Linked DNA regions of Homo sapiens: region 1 is linked to region 2. Evidence: promoter capture Hi-C in human tissues and cell types (Jung and others, 2019). All regions are on one chromosome and are shown on one strand. Each heading gives the region's core, a stretch centred on a gene start or on the middle of the fragment in contact. The rest is flanking DNA. Distances are from core to core; before and after follow the strand shown. Region 1 has its middle 470 kb from the start of NPIPA7. Region 2 holds the start of XYLT1 (xylosyltransferase 1).

Region 1 (6,435 bases), core at 2,174-4,673, 630 kb after region 2:
GTCATTTCCTGAGACACTTGGACAAAATTGCAGGGTGGAGTCAAAGTAAAGCTTTGATGGTCCATATTATCCACCAAATGTATTTCTAGCAAATACCAACAAATTCTGTGGCTACTGGAGGTCACTGTGTTAGCTGTCCCGCTTCACTCCACCTAAAGATACAACTAAGAAAACCATAAAGGGATAGAGTGATAGAATGAGGATCCCACCATCTGCCTAAGGGCTTACATGTGACTTCGGAAACTGGCATAAAGAGGAAGGCGAGGGCCAGACGTGGTGACTCATGCCTGTAATCCCAGCACTTTGGGAGGCCGAGATGGGAGGATCATTTGAGGTCAAGAGTTCAAGACCAGCCTGGCTAACATGGCAAAACCCTGTCTCCACCCAAAACACAAAAATTAGCCAGGTATGGTGGTGCACACCTGTAATCCAAGGTACTCAAGAGGCTGAGACAGGAGAATCAGTTCACTGATTCTCCAGGAAACGGAGGTTGCAGTTAGCTGAGATCGTGCCACTGCATTCCAGCCCGAGCGACCAAGTGAGACTCCATCTCAAAAAAAAAAAAAAAAAAAAGAGGAAGGCAAGGTGATGTCATGGAGTGGATTCACTAGAAAAATATAAAAACATCTATTAAAAATGTTTTAAGTTACACTAAAAGCAATGGCAACAAAAGCCAAAATTGACAAATGGGATCTAATTAAACTAAAGAGCTTCTGCACAGCAAAAGAAACTACCATCAGAGTGAACAGGCAACATACAAAAATGGGAGAAAATTTTTGCAATCTATCCATCTGACAAAGGTCTAATATCCAGAATCTACAGAGAACTCAAACAAATTTGCAAGAAAAAAATCAACCCCATCAAAAAGTGGGCAAAGGATATGAACAGACACTTTTCAAAAGAAGACATTTATGCAGCCAACAGACACATGAAAAAATGCTCATCATCACTGGCCATCAGAGAAATGCAAATTAAAACCACAATGAGATACCATCTCACACCAGTTAGAATGGCCATCATTAAAAAGTCAGGAAACAACAGATGCTGGAGAGGATGTGGAGAAATAGGAATACTTTTACACTGTTGGGAGTGTAAACTAGTTCAACCATTGTGGAAGACAGTGTGGTGATTCCTCAAGGATCTAGAACTAGAAATACCACTTGACCCAGCCATCCCATTACTGGGTATATACCTAAAGGATTATAAATCATGCTACTATAAACACACATGCACACGTATGTTTATTGCGGCACTATTCACAATAGCAAAGACTTGGAACCAACCCAAATGTCCATCAATAATAGACTGTATTAAGAAAATGTGGCATATAAACACCATGGAATACTATGCAGCCATAAAAAAGGATGAGTTCATGTCCTTTGTAGGGACATGGATGAAGCTGGAAACCATCATTCTGAGCAAACTATCACAAGGACAGAAAACCAAACACTGCATGTTCTCACTCATAGGTGGGAATTGAACAATGAGAACACTTGAACACAGGGCGGGGAACACCACACACTGGGGCCTGTCATGGGGTGGGGGGATGGGGGAGGGATAGCATTAGGAGAAATACCTAATGTAAATGACGAATTAATGGGTGCAGCAAACCAACATGGCACATGTATTACCTATGTAACAAACCTGCACATTGTGCACATATACCCTAGAACTTAAAGTATAATAATTAAAAATAAATAAATAAAAATGTTTTAAGTTATGCCCTTTCACAGTCTATAAGGATACTTTTCTGAGAGAAAGAAATACGAAAGACTCTTCTATATAAGAAAAGATGCTAGCTTACTCACAAAGGAGAAATGCCACTTAAAACCATAATGAGGCCATTTCTGCCTTATCAGAGTGCCAAGAATTGTAAAGTTTGATCATACCCTGTGTAGGAGGACAAAGCTCTTTTATACATTATTGATTGAGGAACAAATTGGTATGATCTCTGTGATGAGAAATTTGTCGATAGCTATCAGAATTATAAAAGCACATAACTTTTGACCCAGCAAATTCCCTTCTAGAAATTTATTCTACAGTATAACTGCATAGGAGCAAAATGACTGTATTGCTCAAGGTTCTCCAGAGGAAGAGAATCAATACAGTATATATAGGCAAAGATTTATTATGGGAATTAGCTTACATGATTGTGGTGGCCCAGAGGTCCCATGATCTGCCATCTGCAAGCTGAAGAACCCAGGAAGCCAGTGATGTCATTCAGTCCAAGTCCAAAGACCAAGAACTGGGGAGGCCACTGGTGTAAGTCCCAGAGCCTGTAGCCCTGAGAACCAGGAGCTCCAGTCTCCAAGGGTGGGAGATGAATGTAGCAGCTCAACAAGACAGAGAACTCACCCTTTTTCCGCCTTTTTCTTCTATCTGGGCCTTCAGCGGATTACGCCATGCCCACCCACATTGCTGAGGGCCATCTTCTTTACTCAGTCTGCTGATGCAAACACTAATCTCTTTTGGAAATGTTTTAGCAGATATACTGCAAAACAATGTTTGACCAGCTATCTAGGCATCCCTTAGCCCAGTTAACAAATAAAATTAACCATCACAATGACGTATGCACAGTGCTATTCATTGCAGCATTGCTAATATTGAAGCATTGCTAATATAAAAGCAAAAGAAATAAAGTAACTTAAATTTACATCAAAATGGTCTACACTTAAATAATCCCTATAGCGGATTTTAAGTTATCCGTGCAGTGGACTATTATGTAGCAGTGGAAAAGAATTAAGCTTGAAGATGGCCGAATAGGAACAGCTCCGGTCTACAGCTCCCAGCGTGAGCGACGCAGAAGACGGGTGATTTCTGCATTTCCATCTGAGGTACCGGGTTCATCTCACTAGGGAGTGCCAGACAGTGGGCGCAGGCCAGTGTGTGTGCGCACCGTGCGCGAGCCGAAGCAGGGCGAGGCATTGCCTCACCTGGGAAGCGCAAGGGGTCAGGGAGTTCCCTTTCCGAGTCAAAGAAAGGGGTGATGGATGCACCTGGAAAATCGGGTCACTCCCACCCGAATATTGCGCTTTTCAGACCGGCTTAAGAAACGGCGCACCACGAGACTATATCCCACACCTGGCTCAGAGGGTCCTACGCCCACGGAATCTCGCTGATTGCTAGCACAGCAGTCTGAGATCAAACTGCAAGGCGGCAACGAGGCTGGGGGAGGGGCGCCCGCCATTGCCCAGGCTTGCTTAGGTAAACAAAGCAGCCGGGAAGCTCGAACTGGGTGGAGCCCACCACAGCTCAAGGAGGCCTGCCTGCCTCTGTAGGCTCCACCTCTGGGGGCAGGGCACAGACAAACAAAAAGGCAGCAGTAACCTCTGCAGACTTAAGTGTCCCTGTCTGACAGCTTTGAAGAGAGCAGTGGTTCTCCCAGCACGCAGCTGGAGATCTGAGAACGGGCAGACTGCCTCCTCAAGTGGGTCCCTGACCCCTGACCCCCGAGCAGCCTAACTGGGAGGCACCCCCCAGCAGGGGCACACTGACACCTCACATGGCAGGGTATTCCAACAGACCTGCAGCTGAGGGTCCTGTCTGTTAGAAGGAAAACTAACAACCAGAAAGGACATCTACACCGAAAACCCATCTGTACATCACCATCATCAAAGACCAAAAGTAGATAAAACCACAAAGATGGGGAAAAAACAGAACAGAAAAACTGGAAACTCTAAAACGCAGAGCGCCTCTCCTCCTCCAAAGGAACGCAGTTCCTCACCAGCAACAGAACAAAGCTGGATGGAGAATGATTTTGACGAGCTGAGAGAAGAAGGCTTCAGACGATCAAATTACTCTGAGCTACGGGAGGACATTCAAACCAAAGGCAAAGAAGTTGAAAACTTTGAAAAAAATCTAGAAGAATGTATAACTAGAATAACCAATACAGAGAAGTGCTTAAAGGAGCTGATGGAGCTGAAAACCAAGGCTCGAGAACTACGTGAAGAATGCAGAAGCCTCAGGAGCCGATGCGATCAACTGGAAGAAAGGGTATCAGCAATGGAAGATGAAATGAATGAAATGAAGCGAGAAGGGAAGTTTAGAGAAAAAAGAATAAAAAGAAATGAGCAAAGCCTCCAAGAAATATGGGACTATGTGAAAAGACCAAATCTACGTCTGATTGGTGTACCTGAAAGTGATGTGGAGAATGGAACCAAGTTGGAAAACACTCTGCAGGATATTATCCAGGAGAACTTCCCCAATCTAGCAAGGCAGGCCGACATTCAGATTCAGGAAATACAGAGAACGCCACAAAGATACTCCTCGAGAAGAGCAACTCCAAGACACATAATTGTCAGATTCACCAAAGTTGAAATGAAGGAAAAAATGTTAAGGGCAGCCAGAGAGAAAGGTCGGGTTACCCTCAAAGGGAAGCCTATCAGACTAACAGCAGATCTCTCGGCAGAAACCCTACAAGCCAGAAGAGAGTGGGGGCCAATATTCAACATTCTTAAAGAAAAGAATTTTCAACCCAGAATTTCATATCCAGCCAAACTAAGCTTCATAAGTGAAGGAGAAAGAAAATACTTTACAGACAAGCAAATGCTGAGAGATTTTGTCACCACCAGGCCTACCCTAAAAGAGCTCCTGAAGGAAGCACTAAACATGGAAAGGAACAACCGGTACCAGCCGCTGCAAAATCATGCCAAAATGTAAAGACCATCGAGACTAGGAAGAAACTGCATCAACTAATGAGCAAAATCACCAGCTAACATCATAATGACAGGATCAAATTCACACATAACAATATTAACTTTAAATATAAATGGACTAAATTCTGCAATTAAAAGACACAGACTGGCAAGTTGGATAAAGAGTCAAGACCCATCAGTGTGCTGTATTCAGGAAACCCATCTCACGTGCAGAGACACACATAGGCTCAAAATAAAAGGATGGAGGAAGATCTACCAAGCAAATGGAAAACAAAAAAAGGCAGGGGTTGCAATCCTAGTCTCTGATAAAACAGACTTTAAACCAACAAAGATCAAAAGAGACAAAGAAGGCCATTACATAATGGTAAAGGGATCAATTCAACAAGAGGAGCTAACTATCCTAAATATTTATGCACCCAATACAGGAGCACCCAGATTCATAAAGCAAGTCCTGAGTGACCTACAAAGAGACTTAGACTCCCACACATTAATAATGGGAGACTTTAACACCCCACTGTCAATATTAGACAGATCAACGAGACAGAAAGTCAACAAGGATACCCAGGAATTGAACTCAGCTCTGCACCAAGCAGACCTAATAGACATCTACAGAACTCTCCACCCCAAATCAACAGAATATACATTTTTTTCAGCACCACACCACACCTATTCCAAAATTGACCACATAGTTGGAAGTAAAGCTCTCCTCAGCAAATGTAAAAGAACAGAAATTATAACAAACTATCTCTCAGACCACAGTGCAATCAAACTAGAACTCAGGATTAAGAATCTCACTCAAAGCCGCTCAACTACATGGAAACTGAACAACCTGCTCCTGAATGACTACTGGGTACATAACGAAATGAAGGCAGAAATAAAGATGTTCTTTGAAACCAACGAGAACAAAGACACCACATACCAGAATCTCTGGGACGCATTCAAAGCAGTGTGTAGAGGGAAATTTATAGCACTAAATGCCTACAAGAGAAAGCAGGAAAGATCCAAAATTGACACCCTAACATCACAATTAAAAGAACTAGAAAAGCAAGAGCAAACACATTCAAAAGCTAGCAGAAGGCAAGAAATAACTAAAATCAGAGCAGAACTGAAGGAAATAGAGACACAAAAAACCCTTCAAAAAATCAATGAATCCAGGAGCTGGTTTTTTGAAAGGATCAACAAAATTGATAGACCGCTAGCAAGACTAATAAAGAAAAAAAGAGAGAAGAATCAAATAGACACAATAAAAAATGATAAAGGGGATATCACCACCGATCCCACAGAAATACAAACTACCATCAGAGAATACTACAAACACCTCTACGCAAATAAACTAGAAAATCTAGAAGAAATGGATACATTCCTCGACACATACACTCTCCCAAGACTAAACCAGGAAGAAGTTGAATCTCTGAATAGACCAATAACAGGCTCTGAAATTGTGGCAATAATCAATAGTTTACCAACCAAAAAGAGTCCAGGACCAGATGGATTCACAGCCGAATTCTACCAGAGGTACAAGGAGGAACTGGTACCATTCCTTCTGAAACTATTCCAATCAATAGAAAAAGAGGGAATCCTCCCTAACTCATTTTATGAGGCCAGCATCATTCTGATACCAAAGCCGGGCAGAGACACAACCAAAAAAGAGAATTTTAGACCAATATCCTTGATGAACATTGATGCAAAAATCCTCAATAAAATACTGGCAAACCGAATCCAGCAGCACATCAAAAAGCTTATCCACCATGATCAAGTGGGCTTCATCCCTGGGATGCAA
Region 2 (6,422 bases), core at 1,898-4,397:
CGTTCTGGCAACATGTGAAATCTTGGGGGCTGTCTCCTCCAACCCCTCATTTGGCACTAAAGAAATCTAAGTCCTGGGAGGGGAGGTGGCTTGGCCAAGGTCATATAACCTCGGGAGGCTGCGTGGAATAAATGATGGAATCTGTTCCCTGCACCTACTTCTTTCCCATCAGACCCTGATCTCTATAGGGCATCCAAGTTGTTACAGGGAGGCTGGCTTCACCCCAATGGCGGAGGTGAAATATGGGATCTTGGCCAAGTTGATCGGCATTTTCTAACTTCCTGGCCACACTGATTGGTCTCGGAGTGACCCAGAACTTAAGACTGGTCTAATCAGAAAAAAAATCTCCGAACCTTTGAGGAAAATCCTGGGAAATACTGACCCTCCTTTCCCTGGGCTAGAAATGAACACAGGATACAAAGTAGTCGCAGCAGCTGAGGCCAGGCATCGTGTGACATCAAGAGGGAATAAGGTAGACTCCATGGAAAGCAGAGAGGAGAGATGGAAAGAAAAGGAATCCCAGGTGATAATTGTGAGTTGCTAGATCAAACCTCACCTGAAGCCTTTCCTCTGCAATGTTCAGCTACATGATCCAGTAAAGTATATTTTTAAGACAGACCGGGCTGGGCACAGTGGCTGATGCCTGTAATCCCAGCACTTTGGGAGGCTGAGGCAGGCAGATCACCTGAGGTCAGGAGTTTGAGATCAGCCTGGCCAACATGGTGAAACCTCGTCTGTACTAAAAAAAAAATTAGCTGGGCGTGGTGGCACATGCCTGTAATCCCAGCTACTCGGGAGGCTGAGGCATGAGAATTACTTGAACCCAAGAGGCAGAGGTTGGAGTGAGCTGAGATCACACCACTGCACTCCAGGCTGGGTGATGGAGTGAGACTGTGTCAAAAAAAAAAAAAAAAAAAAGACTTAAAAGATAGACTTAAGTCTTATTACTGTTAGTAATAGATGTTATTGCTTGTAAACAAAATATCCCCAACTGATAAACAGATGACTGGTGGCCCTAGAAACTTGCCTCTGGTCTTTTACTCCTGGTTAGGGGTGCTGGGCCCAAAGGGAAGGCCTCTATGCCAGGCTACATGCCTGGCTAAGCTTTAGATACAACTAAGGTTGATTGGTTTGGAGTTTACAACCCCCACTAGCATACATTTTATACTTTTCTTGTTCAGGCAAGTGGACTGGCTAATTACATGGGTTCAGAAAGCATTTTTTCTTGGCGCTTACTCCCGTCCTGCCCTCATGAACCCTTAGCATTTTTGCACATCTCTACAGCAATGCTTATCTCACCATATATATATATATAATATTATATATATTTACATATAAATATATATATTATATATATGTTATATATTATATATTATATATATTATATGTACATATATATAAATATATTATATATAATATATTTATTATATACATTATATATAATATATATATATACAATATATATATATTTATATATACGTTTTTTAGATGGAGTCTTGCTCTGTAACCCAGGCTGGAGTGCAGTGGTGTGATCTCGGCTCACTGCAGCCTCTGCCTCCTGGGTTCAAGAGATTCTCCTGCCTCAGCCTCCTGAGTAGCTGGGATCAGGGGTGTGTGCCACCATGCCCGGCTAATTTTTGTATTTTTAGTAGAGACGGGGTTTCACCATGTTGGCAAGGCTGATCTCGAACTTCTGACCTCAGGTGATCCTCCTGTCTTGGCCTCCCAAAGTGCTGCGATTACAGGCATGAGCCACCGCGCCCAGGCCTATCTCACTATATTTTAATGATTAACATCCACATCAGGCTTCTCTAGACCTCAGGCTTGCTGAAGATGAGATTAAACCTCATTCACCTTTGGATGCGTGCACCTGGCCCAGTGTCTGACACAAGCTTTGTATTCACGGATGCTTGTGGAGTGGATGAAACAATCTCTTCCCACTCCCTGCCTCATTGTCTGATGAGCCTTCATTACACTCCACTTTCTTCTCTTTGTAAATTAGGATGAGGTGAAAAAGCACAGCAGACAAGATGCGAAGCATTCACGCCAAGTCCTCAATTCACAAACTGATTTGATCTGCTGTTGTATTCCCAGAGTGCTAGGTCCCGTATGGGACACCAACGCCATCCCATATGCTCACTGTTCTGCGCTGCTGTGTATAAAGCCCTGGGCAAGAGGACAAGGGAGGGAAAAACCAGAAAGACTGAGTCAGAGAAGGCTCGGGATGAAATTTGAGTCCATTGGGATCATTCTGCCTAAACGACAGAGGAGAAAGCTTGGGCTCAGGGAGGAGTCCTCCTCCTCCTGGCTCAAGGTCACCGGGACAGACCAGTCAGGATGGGAAAGAACTCCACTTTCAAGAGCAAGACCTGTTTCCCCAGGACCTGGGCCCTGTGCAGACAGGAAGGGGGACTTCAGGATGGATGGGGAAAAGGACACGCTGGGAGGCTGCGGGGCCAGCCTTTGGGGCTTGCATCCTGCGAAGGTTGAGTAACTCCACGGGTCTCCCTTTTGCCGCTATACCACTTGCCAACTGGGTTTGGAGTCTCTTGGCTTGTGAGTCCTCAGGGACCAGAGAAGTGACTCAGTGAACACTTAGTACATCGTTGGCACCGGGGATTGTGTGTGATTCAGGAGTCACTCACAGAGCTTGTGCTGATTAACTCCAGAAACTCACCCAAAGCCTCCTCCCCACCCCTTCAAGCCCAGGATGAAGGGATCAGACTGTGGCTCTGACACTCCTGAAATGTTTCTCACGTGTCCACCTGCCAACCGGTCTGGTACCGACAGAAGATCCCTGGACCGCGAACTCCGGGGCTAGGAGCTTCCTCCACGCACTGCCTCCTTCCAGCGGCCCACAGGGAAAACAGGACCTCGGGACCCCCTCTCTTCCTGACCTCCCCTGGATTCTGAGCGGGCCCACCCTCAACCAAAGGTCCCCTGTTTCGCGGCCCCTGCCTCTCTTTTTCCGCCTTGGGAATTGTCCCCCTCGCCCCCCATCCTACTCCCACTACGTCCTGAGGGGTGTCTGTCTTCTCTGATCGCCCCCACCCCCTTCCTTTCCCTCCTCCTTTTCCTCCCTCGGCTCCTCCCCCAGGCCCCGCCCTCTCCGCCTCGGCCCGCGTCCCCCCGGCGCCTTCCCCATCACCCTCCCCTCCAGCGGGGACAGGGGTGTGGGGAGGGGGGCGGCGGCGGCGGCCCGAGCGGGAGCCCGAGCGGCAGCCGGCGGCCGCGGGAGCTGCGGGGAGCGCGGGGGCGGCCCGGAGCGTGCCGGGGTCCCCGCGCCTCGCTCGCCGGCCGCGCTCCGAAGATGGTGGCGGCGCCGTGCGCCCGGAGGCTGGCCCGGCGCTCGCACTCGGCGCTGCTCGCGGCGCTCACGGTGCTGCTGCTGCAGACGCTGGTCGTGTGGAATTTCAGCAGCCTCGACTCCGGGGCCGGGGAGCGCCGCGGGGGCGCAGCGGTCGGCGGCGGGGAGCAGCCGCCCCCGGCCCCGGCCCCGCGCCGGGAGCGCCGGGACCTGCCCGCCGAGCCGGCTGCAGCCCGAGGAGGAGGAGGAGGCGGCGGCGGAGGAGGAGGAGGACGGGGGCCCCAGGCGCGGGCGCGGGGAGGCGGCCCCGGAGAACCGCGGGGACAGCAGCCGGCCAGCCGGGGGGCACTGCCCGCCCGGGCTCTGGTAAGATGCCCTTTCGGCTCGCGCCCCGCGGCGAGGGAGGGAGGAAGGCAGCCCGACCCCACGCCCCCCTAGCCCTTGAACTCGGTCATCAGACTGGGACTCTGCAAGCCTACCGACTCCACATCGCCTCTTGCCCCGGGAAGCCGGGTGGGGTCCCTGCCAAGGCTCAGGGGTCGTGGGCTGCCCCTTTCAGAGTCTGAGCACGGACCCCTTGGGGTCTGGGGGAAGTTTTCTCCAGCGGGGGCGCTTTGGGGGTTACCGGAGCCTGGCTGGGTTCCTGTTCCCCATCACTCTTGCTGGGGACCCCAGGTGACTTGCTCCGTGCGTGTAGGTCTTGGTGACTCGCTCCCTGCCTGAGTGAGTGGATCTCCCCGGATCCTCAGCCGCTGTTCCTGGGCGGTTGTCGCAGCAGCATCTCTCTGGTTTTTGCCGAGCTGGGTGCAGACAGTTGAGCCCTCTGTTCGTCCTGGCCTGCGATGAGGGCTGAGCTGGGCGTCCCAAGTCCCCGACCATGCCCCTGAATCAATACTCAGTCCGGGGTGTCTGGTCTTACTTTGGGTCTTCTGTTTCTCTTCTCTGGATGTTTGAGCCTTCCGTCTTCACCTTCTCTGTCTCTAACCTTGCCGTCTCCCATGCCCTCTGTGACTTTATCTCCTCCCCATCTCCAGTTTCAGGGCATGGCTCCTTCTCCTAGCTGGTTGTCTCTGTCTTTCTGTCTTGTTGCGGCCGGTTCAGGTCACCAGCTGTGTGTCCGACCACACCGTCAGGGCTTCCACTCCTATGGGATTACTTTGCCCTTCGTGGGTGTGAACAGTCAGGGCTCTGAAACTGTTTTTTCCGCAGATCTGGGGCCATCTGGGTGGCTGGGTGGGGAACTGACTTGTCTTCCTACCCTGTCCCTAACTTCTCCAGGGATACCTTTCCCACCTTCTCTGGGCTGCCTTGCCCAGCCTACTGAGCTAGGAGCAGGAGCACATGGGGCAGGAGGCCGGAGTCCCCATTTCAGAGCCAAGGTCTCAGTTCTCCAGGGGCGTGAGTTCTGCCTTAGGGCATAGCCAATGTGTTGTGTGTCTGTCTGTTTCTTCATCACACTACTTGTCTGCAAGGATTTGCCTAGCCGTTAAAGGATATTAGACACCAGGGGGATGGTTTCAGGATCCTGAAGACTGAATGCATATTTCTATCATTTGTCACTTTGGAAGTCCTCACTGAAGACTGCCTTAGTACACAGCGTGATGCTTTCTGAGCTGCTAAACTTCTTCGGAGTCTGTGCGACCCTTTCTGCCGGAGTGCAGCTCTTCATGCCTGAGAACTGAGCCAGTCCCAAGACGTGATGTGATGGCATTTCACGTTGCTGTGTGGGTAGCAGGGAGAAGTCTTTCCCTCATTTGCGGGGAGAATAGTGGCGTGAGCTGCCTGACGGAGAACCAGAACATTCCTAGTGTCCTGCGATCTCTTCTTTACAGAGAGGGGTACTCTGAAACGCTGCCTTTGAACTCTTGGAGTTGATAGTGATGGGTTCCCGCAGAAATGCAATTAGAAGTTCTTTGTGCATCCAGAGCCCAGGAGGTGGGGTGGGAGGGTTGTGGGTCGTGTCCTGCTGGTCCAGTGTAAGAACGTGTAGGGGAGACATGGTGGGGGAAGCCTGGGGCTTACTGTATCATTTGCATCTGGGGGTCAGAGTGGGTTCAGGAGGTACCTTTAGGATGCATGTAGCACCTGTTGAAACAAATGAAGAGAAGGAAGGAGGCAGGGCTAGCTGATTTCTTCATAGGTCCCCGGCATTGTGAGCATCCACCCCCAGCCCCTCTCTGTGTGCTCGGCTCAGTGTTTTACTCTCTCACACCCAGCTCAGCCTCTGAGAGATCTGCGGTTGGGGAGGTAGGTGGGAACACACTATTTTCCTTTTTACTTCCTTTTGGAATTGCAGTTCCAGCAGCGGAGGTGCTTTGCTTTTCTGAAACTCTGCTTCCAACTGCAAGTTCAGTTACTCTCCCCAAATCTGCATGTCCTAATGTCTCAATTTCTTTACCTTCCAAGATGGACATTTATGTATTTTTTTTTTCTTTTGGTTCTCTTCTCTTCTTGGTGGCTGTCTACCATGCTGTTGACTGTTGTCTCTTGGGGCTTTGTATTTTATTTCATTTGCTTGTCTCCTTTCTTTCCTCTCCCCCCACACCTACTCCATGACCTGCTAAATCCTGAAATCACAGTACAGACAGGCTGGCTGGAGCCCGGGGTCTGTCCTACTCTGACTGTGCCCACCCAGTTCCTGCCCTTCCATGGAGCTCCAGGAGACCAGAAGGGGGCAGGCTGTTCCCAAAGTCTGGTATAGCTGGAGCTTGGGTTGCAGGCAAGGAGAGGACCAGACCTTTTCGCAAGCAATAGAGGCCGTTGAAATGTGCAGTTTGTTTCCAGACCCTGCGGAGGCTGCCAGGATGATGCTTTGGAGGGAGATTCAGGAGTGGGACATTTAAAGAAACAAATCCCCGTGATTTTCCAGATGGCTCTTGTAGAGAGGTGGTTAGACACATGCTTAGAAGAAGATGCTTTAGCTCAGTGCTCTGTTGCAGGTGGGGATGGGGTGGGTGGACAGCCTTGGCTCTTGCATGTAGAGGGAACCTGTGTCCTGGGTTGCTGGTGGGTGTGTTGCAGAGAGTGTCAGGCAGGCATTGTGTATAGGGCATTTCCTAAGCCAGATCTTCCTCCTTCCTGATGCCCACAGCCTCAGAGCATTTGTCCTTTTTAT

The links. Contacts are between HindIII fragments. The study calls those that stand out against the background at their distance.
Region 1: a fragment that was not itself captured here is called in contact with the fragment with the promoter of XYLT1 in region 2 in 1 of the 25 tissues and cell types used here (lymphoblastoid cells).

What each region holds. Positions count from the first base shown.
Region 1 is chr16:16,842,870-16,849,304 of GRCh38, reverse strand. No RefSeq gene overlaps it. Among named protein-coding and RNA genes, the nearest start is that of NPIPA7, 470 kb to the right of the region's middle. The HindIII fragment of the contact is 4,050 bases long and covers 1,399-5,448 here.
Region 2 is chr16:17,467,685-17,474,106 of GRCh38, reverse strand. XYLT1 (xylosyltransferase 1) reads left to right here and starts at 3,147. Exons shown (of 12, transcript NM_022166.4): 1 at 3,147-3,673. The coding sequence starts at 3,311. It overlaps LOC107987234 (a long non-coding RNA gene), which reads left to right and starts at 3,680. Exons shown (of 2, transcript XR_001752091.2): 1 at 3,680-6,422. It overlaps LOC105371106 (a long non-coding RNA gene), which reads left to right. Exons shown (of 3, transcript XR_933144.3): 3 at 2,003-3,100. RefSeq lists enhancers at 2,652-3,153, 3,928-3,977, 4,098-4,367, 5,963-6,032. The HindIII fragment of the contact is 9,248 bases long and covers 2,085-6,422 here.